Linked DNA regions of Homo sapiens: region 2 is linked to region 1. Evidence: promoter capture Hi-C in human tissues and cell types (Jung and others, 2019). All regions are on one chromosome and are shown on one strand. The core of a region is centred on a gene start or on the middle of the fragment in contact, and the rest is flanking DNA. Distances in the headings are between cores, read along the strand shown. Region 1 holds the start of DTD2 (D-aminoacyl-tRNA deacylase 2). Region 2 overlaps AKAP6 (A-kinase anchoring protein 6).

The links. Contacts are between HindIII fragments. The study calls those that stand out against the background at their distance.
Region 2: a fragment that was not itself captured here is called in contact with the fragment with the promoter of DTD2 in region 1 in 1 of the 25 tissues and cell types used here (dorsolateral prefrontal cortex).

Annotation. Positions count from the first base shown.
Region 1 is chr14:31,452,531-31,459,028 of GRCh38, reverse strand. DTD2 (D-aminoacyl-tRNA deacylase 2) reads left to right here and starts at 1,523. Exons shown (of 3, transcript NM_080664.3): 1 at 1,523-1,746; 2 at 5,685-5,754. The coding sequence starts at 1,636. It overlaps HEATR5A-DT (HEATR5A divergent transcript), which reads right to left. Exons shown (of 4, transcript NR_110045.1): 4 at 6,146-6,498. RefSeq lists enhancers at 1,359-1,538, 1,679-1,888, 1,333-1,918, 1,919-2,504. The HindIII fragment of the contact is 4,347 bases long and covers 343-4,689 here.
Region 2 is chr14:32,560,279-32,566,620 of GRCh38, reverse strand. All of the region lies in intron 4 of AKAP6 (A-kinase anchoring protein 6), which reads right to left. Among named protein-coding and RNA genes, the nearest start is that of AKAP6, 230 kb to the right of the region's middle. The HindIII fragment of the contact is 4,148 bases long and covers 2,093-6,240 here.

The sequences.
Region 1 (6,498 bases), core at 274-2,773:
AAAAATAAAATACAGAAAGGAAATGCTGTCTTTGGTGGCCACTCTCTATAGCCTTCTGCAAATAGAAGTAAAAAATAAGTGAGCCACAGCCTATTACAGTACCTACAGCAATGTCCACGAGATCCTCACTCAATAGGAGGGTTTAAAGTAATTAGTGATTTTTGAGAAGCTAACCATTACCATCCATACTCCATCTATTCTACTCACAGGAAGGGTTTCCCAATTTGTTAAAGAAACCCTCTCTGTAGAAAGATCTCTGCGAACCACATAACCTATTCTCTATAGACCTCCCTATTTCCTGCAGCCACATACAAATGGACACCAAAGTCTTTTCTTATTCTGGGACATAGCTAATGGTTTGTATGTCAAAGTTTCTTTCAGGCCTGTAAAATCTGAATCTGAGAGCCGGAGAGAAAAGAGACTCAGTAGTTATAATGACATAAAGGTGCAGACATGAAGCAATTCAACTTGTCTGTGCTTTGCAGACAAATGTCAACAACTGTTGGAATCCCTGCAATGCAACAATCAGAGATCATGTGAGATTTTGCTTTCTGTTTTTACTAAAAGTGTAAACCTGGCTGCAAGATAACCAGCAAACAAGCAGCTTCGATTTTGTGTACAAAGGACTGTTGATTATGCATGGACTATTTTCTTCAGTCACACTACTTTGTATGGATAGCAACACTGTCAGTGATGTCATCTTTTTAAACAACAGATCCGAATGTATAGGCACATTGTGTCAACTGAGCCCAAATCAATGACCTGGGTAATGCAATCAGGGTAACACTATTATTCCTCATCTAAACCATCCAAGCCCATAGACAAATAAATGCTAATCTGATGCATGTTTAAGGAATACGTTACATGGGAAAGAAAATCAAGCCCTTGTTTAGTTTTATTTACATTCTAATATGTACTTCCAGAAAATGCATCACAGAATTTACGTCATATGCATCAGAATAAGCTGTTTTATTTTTGTATTAGTAGCGGGCTAAGTTATTAACAATCATACTTTCTTGGATAAGAACATTTTTAACAAGGATATCTTCTAAAGAATGTGTATTCGTATAGCATACCAATACCTTTTCACAACTGTGGAATCAGAATAATTTATGGCATTCCCGATAGAGGAGGCAGCATTGTTTTTATTGATTGGAATAAGGAAAATTTTGAAGGATGTATATATAGCTTTTAGTTCCATCTCCGCTTGCTTTATGATTCGATTATTTGTTTACTTACTTTCATATGGGCATAACATGAATTTAAATCAAGCAGATTTAAAATTTTTCAACAGTTGGAACCTAAGCTTTCTGAGGTGAAAAATGTTTCTTAAAAGGTTTGTAGGAAAGAGATTTAACGAGTCTTTTCAATCGTTTAATAAAAGTATACACTGAGCGCCTTCTACAGAGTTGGGCAGGTGCTGCCGAGAAGCTTAGCGCTACGCCGGCCTCCAAGACCGCACATCCGGGACATTCGAGAGTCAGTCCGAGGCCCCGCCCTCCTAAGGGCGGGGCCACTGGGCAATCGGCGCAGGCCCTTCGTCGTGCCCCGCCTCGTCTGCCCCGCCAGCGCGTCGAGGGAGGGGCCAGCGACACATGGCCTAGTAACTGTCCGGCCGCGGCGCTGGCTTAAGCCATGGCTGAGGGTAGCCGGATTCCTCAGGCCCGGGCGCTCCTACAGCAGTGCCTGCACGCCCGGCTGCAAATTCGCCCAGCCGATGGGGACGTCGCGGCCCAGTGGGTGGAGGTAACGTCAGCCCGGCAGCTCTCGTTATCCTCCGGCGTGCGGGGCGGTTTTTTCCGCGTTGTCTCGGTGACTCGTCCGCTCTGTGTCTCCCTCTGAGACCGGCGGTCCGGCCGCGGGGATACCGGGTCAGCTTGAAGCTGGCCGCGGTGGCCTGCCTGGCTGCGCTTGTCTTTTCGGTCCAGCATCACCGTTCCCCAGCGCCAGTTGTAGCACCCGAGAGGAAGAGCGTGTCTCCCTTCTTGGGGGGACCACAGGTATTTGAAACTGAGTTCGGTGAACTTCAGGCCTTACTGTCTCAGACCCCTTGCAGCTCGTGGTCTATGCTGGTCGGGGGCAAGCTTGTAGGTCAGGTTTGCTGCAAGAGTTCATGATCTGCTTTGACTTACGCCTCAGATCGCGTCGAATTCCCCCCTATGTTGACTTGGTCTTAGCATAGAAATGAGATTTCCTAAGAAACAATTCTATTTCAAGAAGCCTTTTAAAAGTTTTGACCAATTTCCAACTGAGAAACAAAGACCTCTACTTTTATAACAATGTTGCCTTATCAAACACATTTCTCCAAAGAATTTAAAACATTTATGTCACTATGAGTTCCTTCTACTTTCATACATACTTTACTTTTTAAGACCGCCTGCCCCCACTGCATACAAAAACAAATAAAATTTTCTTTAAGGCCTCTGACGTATTTTTGGAGTACGTTGAAATGTAAGAAAAAAATTAGTTCATAATTAAGACTTTTGTAGATACTCAGAAACTTCAGTGTAGCAAAATCTCATTCGCTCGCCTTTTCTGCTGAATTCGGTCCCAGATCTAGCATTACTTAAAACAATTTTAGTTATTATTTTACATTTATTTTATTTTTTATATTTTATTTATTTATATTTTATTTTATTTTTTGAGATGAATTCTCGATCTGTCGCCCAGGCTGGAGTGCAGTGGCACGATCTCGGCTCACTGCAACCTCCGCCTCCCGGGTTCAAGCAATTTTCCTTCCTCAGCCTCCCGAGTAGCTGGGACAACAGGCGCAAGCTACCACGCTAACTTGTATTTTTAGCAGAGACGGGGTTTCGCCATTTTGGCCAGGCTTGTCTGGAACTCCTGACCTCAGGTGATCCACCTGCCTCAGCCTCCCAAACTGCTGGGATTACAAGCCTGAGCCACCGCACCCCGCCTACTTATTGTAAATAGTACCCGTGAACTATATGATGTGTGGGTGATTATTCTAAAATCAGAATCTGTTGCCCTGTGCTAATTTGGAAATATAAGCATAGAAATTCCTGTATTCTTATCTCTCTCCTTTCCCAGAAATTCACTTTTCTTATTTCTTATTTTTGTCATGATTTTTTGTGAGGTCTTGATTTCCTTATTTGAAATTTTATTATTTTATTTTGCCATCCTATCTAAAGAATTAACCTGCCAGGCGCGGTAATCCCAGCACTTTGGGAGGCCAAGGCCGGCGGATCACTTGAGGTCAGGAGTTTGAGACCAGCCTGGCCAACATGTTGAAATCCCGTCTCTACTAAAAATACAAAAATTAGCCGGGCTTGGTGGCGGGCACCTGTAATCCCAGCTACTCGGGAGGCTGAGGCAGGAGAATCTCTTGAATCCGGGAGGCAGAGGTTGTAGTGAGCCAAGATCACGCCACTGCACTCCAGCCTGAGCCACAGAGTGAAACCTCATCTCAAAAATAAATAATAAATAAAATAATTATCCTTTTTTTTTTTTTTTTTTTGAGACAGAGTCTCACTCTGTCACCCAGGCTGGAGTGCAATGGCGCAATCTCGGCTCACTGCAACCTCCGCCTCCCGGGTTCACGCCATTCTCCTGCCTCAGCCTCCCAAGCAGCTGGGACCACAGGCGCCCACCACCACGCCTGGCTAATTTGTTGTATTTTTACTAGAGACGGAGTTTCACCGTGCTAGCCAGGATGGTCTCGATCTCCTGACCTTGTGGTCCGCCCACCTCGGCCTCCCAAAGTGCTGGTATTGCAGGCTTGAGCCACCGTGCCCGGCCGAATTATCCATTTTTATAGTTGCATCCAGACACTATAATTGCAAACTATCAGTCATTTAGTTTCCTTCCATGCTTATTTATCTTTTTTATGTTGTTCAGGCTACATCTCCTTATGCAAAATCACATGTATTTTATTGCTGGCATCCAAACTATCAGTTTGTGTTTATAAACTTAAAAACTATTTTAAAGGCTTTCCCTTTCACTCCTACACACATAACTAAATTAGTTTAAAGAGCTGACAAGTAATTTAGATGGTGAGAAAATGTAAATTCTTTCTTCTTACATATTCTCTACCCTGTTCTATTATTAAAAGTTCTTGTTTTTTTAGAAACAGCATTTTAATTGTCAAGATTTGAAGGTTACTTTCTTTGCTTGTTCTTAGTTTCATTCATTTAGAACTTTGCTGTCACAGACTAATGTTTTTGTTCCTGGTAAGTGAACTTTTTAAAGCTACAGTGAGAATTATCTGTATTTTTCTATATATTTGAAATGTTTTATACCAAAGAAGTTATAAGGAAAGTGATTTTTGACTTGAAGTCACAGCTTAACATCTATTATGGAATAAATGAAAGGCAAAGACCTTAATGAGGAGATAATGTTAGTGGAAAGAACAGGTATCGTTCTGCAAATGATTAGGTATTTATTTCTGACATTGCATGTGTCCAAATATAAATATGCTTAAGATTTCGATTCATGATGAAAACAATACTAGTGGAGAGGCCTGTGACAGTAGTGCAAATACCTATAATAACTTGCCAGCTTCTCGTGGGTATGCATTGGAGGCCCTTGCCTATTGTTTCAGTAGCACGATTGTACTTTTTAAAACTCACTTCTTTTCCAGGTAAATCACGTGTGAGTGCAGAGCTGCATTTACATTTATCTAGAAAATTCTTTGGATAACGCATAGAGCCTGGAACATATAGTTGAATGTTAATGCAATCAACAGATAAACTGAATCCCTATCGTGTACAAAACAGCCTGTAAAGTGCTTTGGAAGTTAAAATGTGAAATAAATTGTGCCTCTGCCCTTAAATTTATTTTTACATACTCATTTAATAAACACTAATATAGCACTTACTATGAACCAGGCACTGTGTTTAAGTACTTTACAAATGTTAACTCATTTAATCTTCCTAATAGCTCCTGGAGTCAAGATTAATTTACAGAATCAAAAAAATCTAATGATTCACTCAGAAGCAGAATCAAAGTCACTATTCAAATGTCTCTTTTCTGTATAGTCTCTGTCCTACAAGATCTAAGAAATATCCAAGCCATTATGTAAAATAAATAAGCCTATATTCCTGATAACAACCAACCTTTTAATGTAGAATTTACTATCACAAATGCAGTTTTCAAGTCCTAATCATGTTTATATAAAGCATTAACAACAATAACAACAACAACAACAAATAATTGGACAGTTTCCTGGAGCTTATAGAAATAGAATCAGACCCTTATTTTCATTATTTGTAAGTAAATGGATTAGGGGAAATAAAGAGAGATGATGTCAAAAGATATCAGTCACATGTTGTTTATCCATCAGCTGTATCTGGTATAATGTGAATTCACTTGGCATTGAATAAATGGGGCCCAGCAAACGAAATGTTTCTAAGTCTGTCACCCTTACTTGAGAAAAGGCTGGTTGATCCTCTTAATGATTTTGATTAGAAATAAATGTTTGAAGGTATAACTTGTCTTCACTGCTCTTGGGTATATTTTAAACTTAAATTTGAAAGAAATAACTGAGATGATTGAAAATTGAAAAATATTTTGTTTTCTCACATGAGAAATCTTTTGTAAAGTTCATTTTCTGTGCTTTTAACCTCTATGTCTATAATATTAATAGTTGTGAAACTGTACCCATTTAGCCCTGTATCTTTACAGATATTGTTGTAATCTGAGTTTACTGTGGTGATTTCTCATAGGTCCAAAGAGGACTGGTGATCTACGTGTGCTTTTTCAAGGGAGCTGATAAAGAACTTCTTCCCAAAATGGGTATGTGTTTGACTTTGTTTCTTTTTTAAGAGTGAGAGGCCAAGCATGGTGCTCACACCTGTAATCCCAACACGTTGGGAGGCCAAGGCAAGTGGATTACTTGAACCCAGGAGTTAGAAGCCAGCCTGGGCAACATAGTAAGACCTCTTCTCTACAAAAAATAAACAAAAGTAGCTGGGTACGGTGACCTGTGCCTATGGTCCTAGCTACTTAGGAGGCTGAGGCTGGAAGATTACTTGAGGCCAGGAGGTCGAGGCTGCAGTGAGCCGAGATGGTGCCACTGCACTCCAGCCTGGGCAACAGAGTGAGACCCTGTCTCAAAAAAAAAAAAAAAAAGAGAGTGAGAAAGAATAGTAATAGACAAATGAACCCGAAGGGACAAAAAGCACAATCTCTTTCCTCCCCTTTTATTTTTAAAATAATAAATAATAATTTTACATATTCATGGGATACATAGTGATATTTTAATACTGTATACAATGTATAACAATCAAACCAGATATGCATTATCTCAAAAATTTATTATTTGTGTTGTGAACATTTAAAATCCTTTCTTCTAGACTTTTGACAGTATACAATAAATTATAGTTAGCCATATTCATCCTACAGTGCTCCAGAACACCAGAACTCATTCCTCCTATCTAGCTATAATTTTGTATCCATTAACCAATCCCTGCCCATCCTAAGAAGCACAATGTTAAATTGTGCTGTTAAATTATTAATTACTTAATTCTATCTAGTGTT
Region 2 (6,342 bases), core at 2,917-5,416, 1.1 Mb before region 1:
GTATTAAGTTGTTTATTCAAAAAAAATTTATTGAGAGTTTACTATGTATCAGAAATTGTATTAGGCCCTTGGGACTCACATACACATAACCCAGATTCTTCTCTTAAAGGGTTCAGAGCAACATAAAGCATGAGATGTATGATAATGCAGACTCATGGTTCTTGAACTTTTAATCTTGAGTCTCCTATTCAGAATTATTGAGATCCCCAGAAAGTTTTTGCTTCTTTGAGCTTTATCAATATTCATTTTAACAATTTAAAAATATGTATTAACTAAAAATAATAATATATATTAACATAAATATATGAACATTTTCAAAAACAGTGAAAAGAATGGCATTATTTTAGCTGTATTCAAATCTTATGAATGTCTGGCTTAATAGAAAATGGCTGGATTTCTATTTCTACTTCTGCATTTAATCTATTACAATATCACGTGTTATGGAGCTTCTGGAAAACTCTGCTATACACAGAATGAAAGTGAAAAAGGTAAATAACATTTAGTGTTGATATGAAAATAGCTTTGACCTTGTGGACTCCCTGAAAGGGTCTTGAGAGCCCCTACAGGTGCCGAGACCATACTGTGAGAACCTCTTGCTGTAGATCATCCCAAGTGCTCAGGAGCCATTGAAAAGACATGTAACTCACTCTTTGGGCATCAAGGGGGACTTCCTGGAGGAAATCACAGGAAATTGAGCCCTGACAGATAAGTGTAAGTGATTCAGAAAAAGAATAGAGGGGACTAAGAGGAGCAGAGAATGGCATTCCTAAAATGAAGCCCAAGAGAGAACAGCTTATTCTGAGAACTCTCAAGTAGCTGATCCTGGCTAACTAACACTCAAAAGACAAATACGAAACACTTAGAAATGAGGTTGCAGAGTCTGGCCAGGAGCTAGGCCACAGACAACATGCTCTGTAGTTTGTACTTTATCCTGAAGACAATGGAATGGTCATTAAAGTTTTGATGCAGAGTGTGAGAGAATCTGATTGGCTTCTTAGAAGACTCACTCTGGCTGCAGTGTGGAAAATGATTGCCAGTTGAAAGGCTGAGAGCAGAGAAGCCAGTTAAAAGGCTGCTATAGCACTCTGAAGAAGTTGATAAGGCTAAACTAAAGCAGCTCAGTGGACATGGGCAGAACCTGCTAGGTTATAGAGAGTACTCAAAGGTAGAATGGACAGGACTAATTGGATTTGATGGATGATGAGAAAGATGTTAGAATCTGGGATGACTGCCAACTTTCTATTTTGGTTGGAGGTACCATTCCCTGAAAGAGGAAATACAAAATTCAGAAGGAGAATTTTTTCCAGTTTTTCTTGAAGCATTACAAAAATAGTTTTGCAGGAAGATCATGAATATGATATTATGTATCATAAATTTGGTTTCTCAACTTAATCAGTTGAAGCATTTAATAAGACAGCTAGTTGTATAAGCCTGGAACTCTACAGCAAGATCTAGTAAGAGAAAGCAACATACAGGGTGTACTAAAGACCATGGGCACAGATGAGATAGCCTAGGAACAGTACGTAAAGGGAAGATCCACCTGTGTCATCTACATTATGAGGCCCAAGAATGCAATGCACTCAACTTTGTTCACTCTGTCCGTCATTCTGTTGTCTATCTCAATGATTCTGACACTGGCTGTGCCTCAAAATCAACTGTGAAACTCTTTAAACATAAACAGAATTCAGAGAAAAGGGATTTCCTCAAAGTCTCTCAAGGATAGAAAGATAAAGAGCCAACAGCTGCAGAGCACTGGAAACATTTAGTGTTGATCTTGGGAAAGAAAGTATTTGCTGCCACTTTGTGACAAGCTTGCAAGATCTGGTAATAACCAGGAGACAGGATGTTCTAACAGGAAGTACTGTGGCTTGGGAGAGACAGATTCTACTTGTAAAATGAGGGCATTGAGCTGAATGATTTTTCATGCCTTCTGACTGTTAACATCTGAGGTTCTTGCATATAGAGCTTCCTTCAAAGCCTGAGACATTCAGACAACTTGCCCCTCTTCCAATTAGGGAACTGATCTTTGGAGTCTTCCACATACCCTCCCAATGCCTTCTACTCCATTCACTATATCTATCCTTCAAGATCAAGCTCAAATGCTCCTCTCCCAACAAATCATCCCAATCTATTGCTGCCTTTCCAATACACTTTCTCAATCTTCGTATATTTAGCAATCAGGGGTTTGAGGGACAGTTCAAAACCTATTACAGGCCCTTCCTTTTTCATCCCTTAATATACTGTAATGAATCTACCTCTAGGTAAAGAGTTCTGTAAGAATTATTATTTATAAGCATATAATTATAAATATGTATTATAAATACAGTCGGCCCTCCATATCTGTGGGTTCTACATCCGTAAATTCAACAAAGCTTGGATTGAAAATATTTTCTTTAAAATGGATGGTGACATCTGTACTAAACATGTATAGACTTTTTCTTCTTGTCATTATTCTCTAAACAATACAGTATAACAACTATCTACATAGCATTTACATTATATTAGATATTACAAGTAACCTAGTGATAATTTAAAGCATACACAAGGTGTGTAGGTTATATGCAAATACTATACAATTTACATAAGGGACTTGAGCATCATTGATTTTGATATCCACAGGGGGTCTTGGAACGAATCCCCCACGGATACTGAGGAACGACTGTATGTATAAATACCAATTATAAATAAATAAGTATATATTATTCATAAGGTTGTTGTGTGACAAAATTATAAATTAGAATGTTGTTTGTATTTGTCTGAACACACATGCATAGCATAAATTTCCCTATATAAACTTCCTAAGATGTCAAAGAAGTACATTAACTAAAATTATTGGGCCACTTAGAGGAGAATTATCTCTAATACAATTCAAGAATCATCTGACAAGGCAGGAAGACAAGGCAGAGTCTTACAGAGAAGAGGGTGCAGGAACCTGGGGTGGCCATCACAGGTCCCACGAAGGGCGAAGAGCACCCTTAACCACTGTGGGTGAGAGTTGTATGGGAGGCTGAAGCTCCATGATAACCAAGGTGGCTGAAGGTGGAAGGAAAAAACAAGGTGGTGGCATTTGATGTCAAAAGACCAGTCATCTCTATACAAGGAGCTGCTAAGACCTGACCCTTCCCCCCCCACAGTACTAATAATGAGAACAACAATAACAACCACAAGAGCTAACATTTATTGAGTGTTTACTACATGCCAGGTACTATTCTGAGCTCTTTACACATTTTAAGACATTTAATCATGACTCTCTGTGGCAGATATGATTTTTAATTCTCCTTTGCAGGAGGAAACTGGAGCACGGAGAGGTCAAGTCACCTGCTTACAATAGCACAGGTATTGTAACACAGGTGATAAGCTGAGACATGGTTTACACAATATGGCTCCAGAGCCCACATTCATAGTCACCATGCTTCACAACCATCCAGCACCAAAGAATGCCCTCACCCATTAATATGCATTCCCCCAGAAATCTCTTACTATGAATGTATCTTTTCCTTTACTGTGGAGTTCCATCTACTAATTTTCTGAATATTCATCCTTTTGGTACCATGAGCAAGGTGGTTTTGGAAGTTCTTCCCAGCCATGTTTCCCTTGTATAAAAGTGTGTCTAGAAAGTGAAATGGGCACAGATATAATTCTTCATGGACCCTACATCCTATTAAGAAGACTCTGGTCAACAGTCTTCTTAACAGGAATAAATACAATGGCATGCACCAAACAATATAAAACTTTAGATGTAATAAGGATAGGATAAGGAAAATAGCTTTAATGAAACTTTGTGAGGTGAATGTGATTACTACACTACAGAATCCAGCCTGAAACTTTATTTATTTATCTATCTACCTATCTATTTATTTATTTATATGGAGTCTCGCTCTGTCACCTGGGCTGGAGTGCAGTGGTGCAATCTCGGCTCACTGCAAACTCCGCCTCCCAGGTTCAAGCAATTCTCCTGCCTCTGCCTCCTGAGTAGCTTGGACTACAGGCACCTGTCACCACACGCAGCTAATTTTTATATGTTTAGTAGAGACAGGGTTTCACCATGTTGGCCAGGCTGGTCTTGAACTCCTGACCTCAAGTGATCCACATGCCTCAGCTTCCCAAAGTGCTGAGATTACAGGTGTGAGCCACTGGGCCTGGCCTGAAACTTTACTTTAAAAGACTACCGATAGTCTTCTCTATGCTATAGAAAATAAATCAAAAGCAAAAGTATTTCTGTTAGCTCAACTTGTCAGTTTTATTTTGGGGCTCAGGTAGGAAGAAAAAAGAGTATTAGATCTCCAATTATGACTCCCTCCCCACCCACACACACATACGCCTTTCTCAAGCAAGTAGTACTAGTCTCTAGACAAATCCAAAAATATGAGTATCATCTATAAATGACACCTTTCCAGTTTTTCTTAAAGCATTAAAAAAAGAAAATACAACTTCCTTTATTCCTAGACAAAACATGAAGGTAAATAGTAAAGCCACTGGGCTTCCTAAAAAGCAATGCACTGAGCCTCATCAACCTGAGAATGGAAAGCGTATGAAGCAGATATTACAGGCAGCACCTTTCCTGGATAAAGTTGCTTAATCACCATGCAAAATTCAAGCCTATCATTCTTAGATAGAAAATTCTATAACCTCAGACAGGGCCTGACATCATGAGTGACCTTGAAACAGAACCCACACTCTTGAAATGATTTCCCCCCATATTGTCTGAACAGAGCACAAGCCTCAGTGCTGATGGGTAATTTTAAGGCATCACAATGACAAGTCTGCCAAGGCAAATGTTTTTAACTGCTTCACTTAGCTGACCTTATTTGCCATAAATTCAGGCTAATCCATATCTAATTCTTACTGGGTAACTCACTTGTTTACTGTCACCACTGGCCCTGGTCTCTTGGCATCTTATAAACTCTAGCCAGGCCCCAAATTCCTCAAGGATGTCTGGCTCTTGTCATATTACAGTGCTAGGAATGCAGCATGAATGGCTCATTCCTCCAGGCTCGTTAATGTCACAGCCTCACATTCACTTACCATTAGGATCTTCTAAGGGAAACTTGAGTTCACCCAAAGTTCCAAGGAACACAAAGTCAGCCATGTTGAAGTGATATACGCCAAGGAATATTGTACAAAGAAATGAGTGCTTCTCTTAGTTATTCCTCACAGTTAGTCTCTCATAAAATTTCAGAACAGAAAAGTATTTATAGGTCATTCAATTCTATTCCTTTATTAATATTTATTTTTTAAAACTGAGGCTTGCGAGGTTACATTTCCAAGGTCACGATGCTACTTAGGGGCAGAATTAAGGTTCTTACCCTAGTTATTTCTAATATATATGGTGCTAATTCCCTAGATTCATAGGAAAAGTCACAATAATAATAAAACTAATATTTATGTAGCCTTTAGATTTACAATGACCCCTTTGCTCTTTGTAGTTTCATACAATAATCTGAGCAAAGGCATGACAAACATAATTAACATCTCATTTTGAAGACTAGAAGACTTATACAGTAAGCTTTAAGTGACTTATTCAAGTTTTCATAATTAAAATGAGGGATTGTGAACTGAGCCCAATGTTTAAGTTCTATATCCTTGAGTAAATTACTAACTTCTGTCTCTTCTAATTTATAAAATGAAAATATAATGTAACAGTGTCTGCATCAAGGAAGAATTTTTTTCTTGAGAATTAAATGAAGTGATGTACTAAGTGAATAAACCCCTTAGCATTCTGCCCGACAGTTTGCAAGGGGACAAGAAATAACAAAGTTTTGTTTTGTATTTAAATTGTTATTTTTCTGAAACATCCTACCAGCAACACAAAATTATGACTTCGGGATTAAAGATAAAGAATAATTCACTAAAGTTCCAAGAATCATTTTAGTTGAATTTAAAAATGCAACGCTAAAAAAATAAATAAATAATAAAAACGCAATGTTGAGTTTATCCATCTTTTGAGTTTCATCACGATAGTAATATTTGCCATCAAATGCAGTTAGGCACTGTTATCATCTTAATACAAGATATTATTGCATCATAACCTTTCCATACGAAGAAAATTACAAAGAACTATTTTCACCTTGATGTTTAAAGCTGCAAACAAAAGGGCAGATCATCTTCCGTATATATTGCAGAGGCCAACAGCCATATGCAGTGACTGGATACAGCCTCACGGTGGTGCTAAATCATCACTGATAACAACTCAAGACCCATTGAAAGCTCTACAGAAACCAAACTGAGGCAGGACTGAAACATTCCTAATGTTAAACAGCAAGGAATTTGCTTTGGATCCCTACGGTTCTTCTGGACCAACCTTGCGCAATGATCCTGACATGTCTCAACAAATCCATTAGC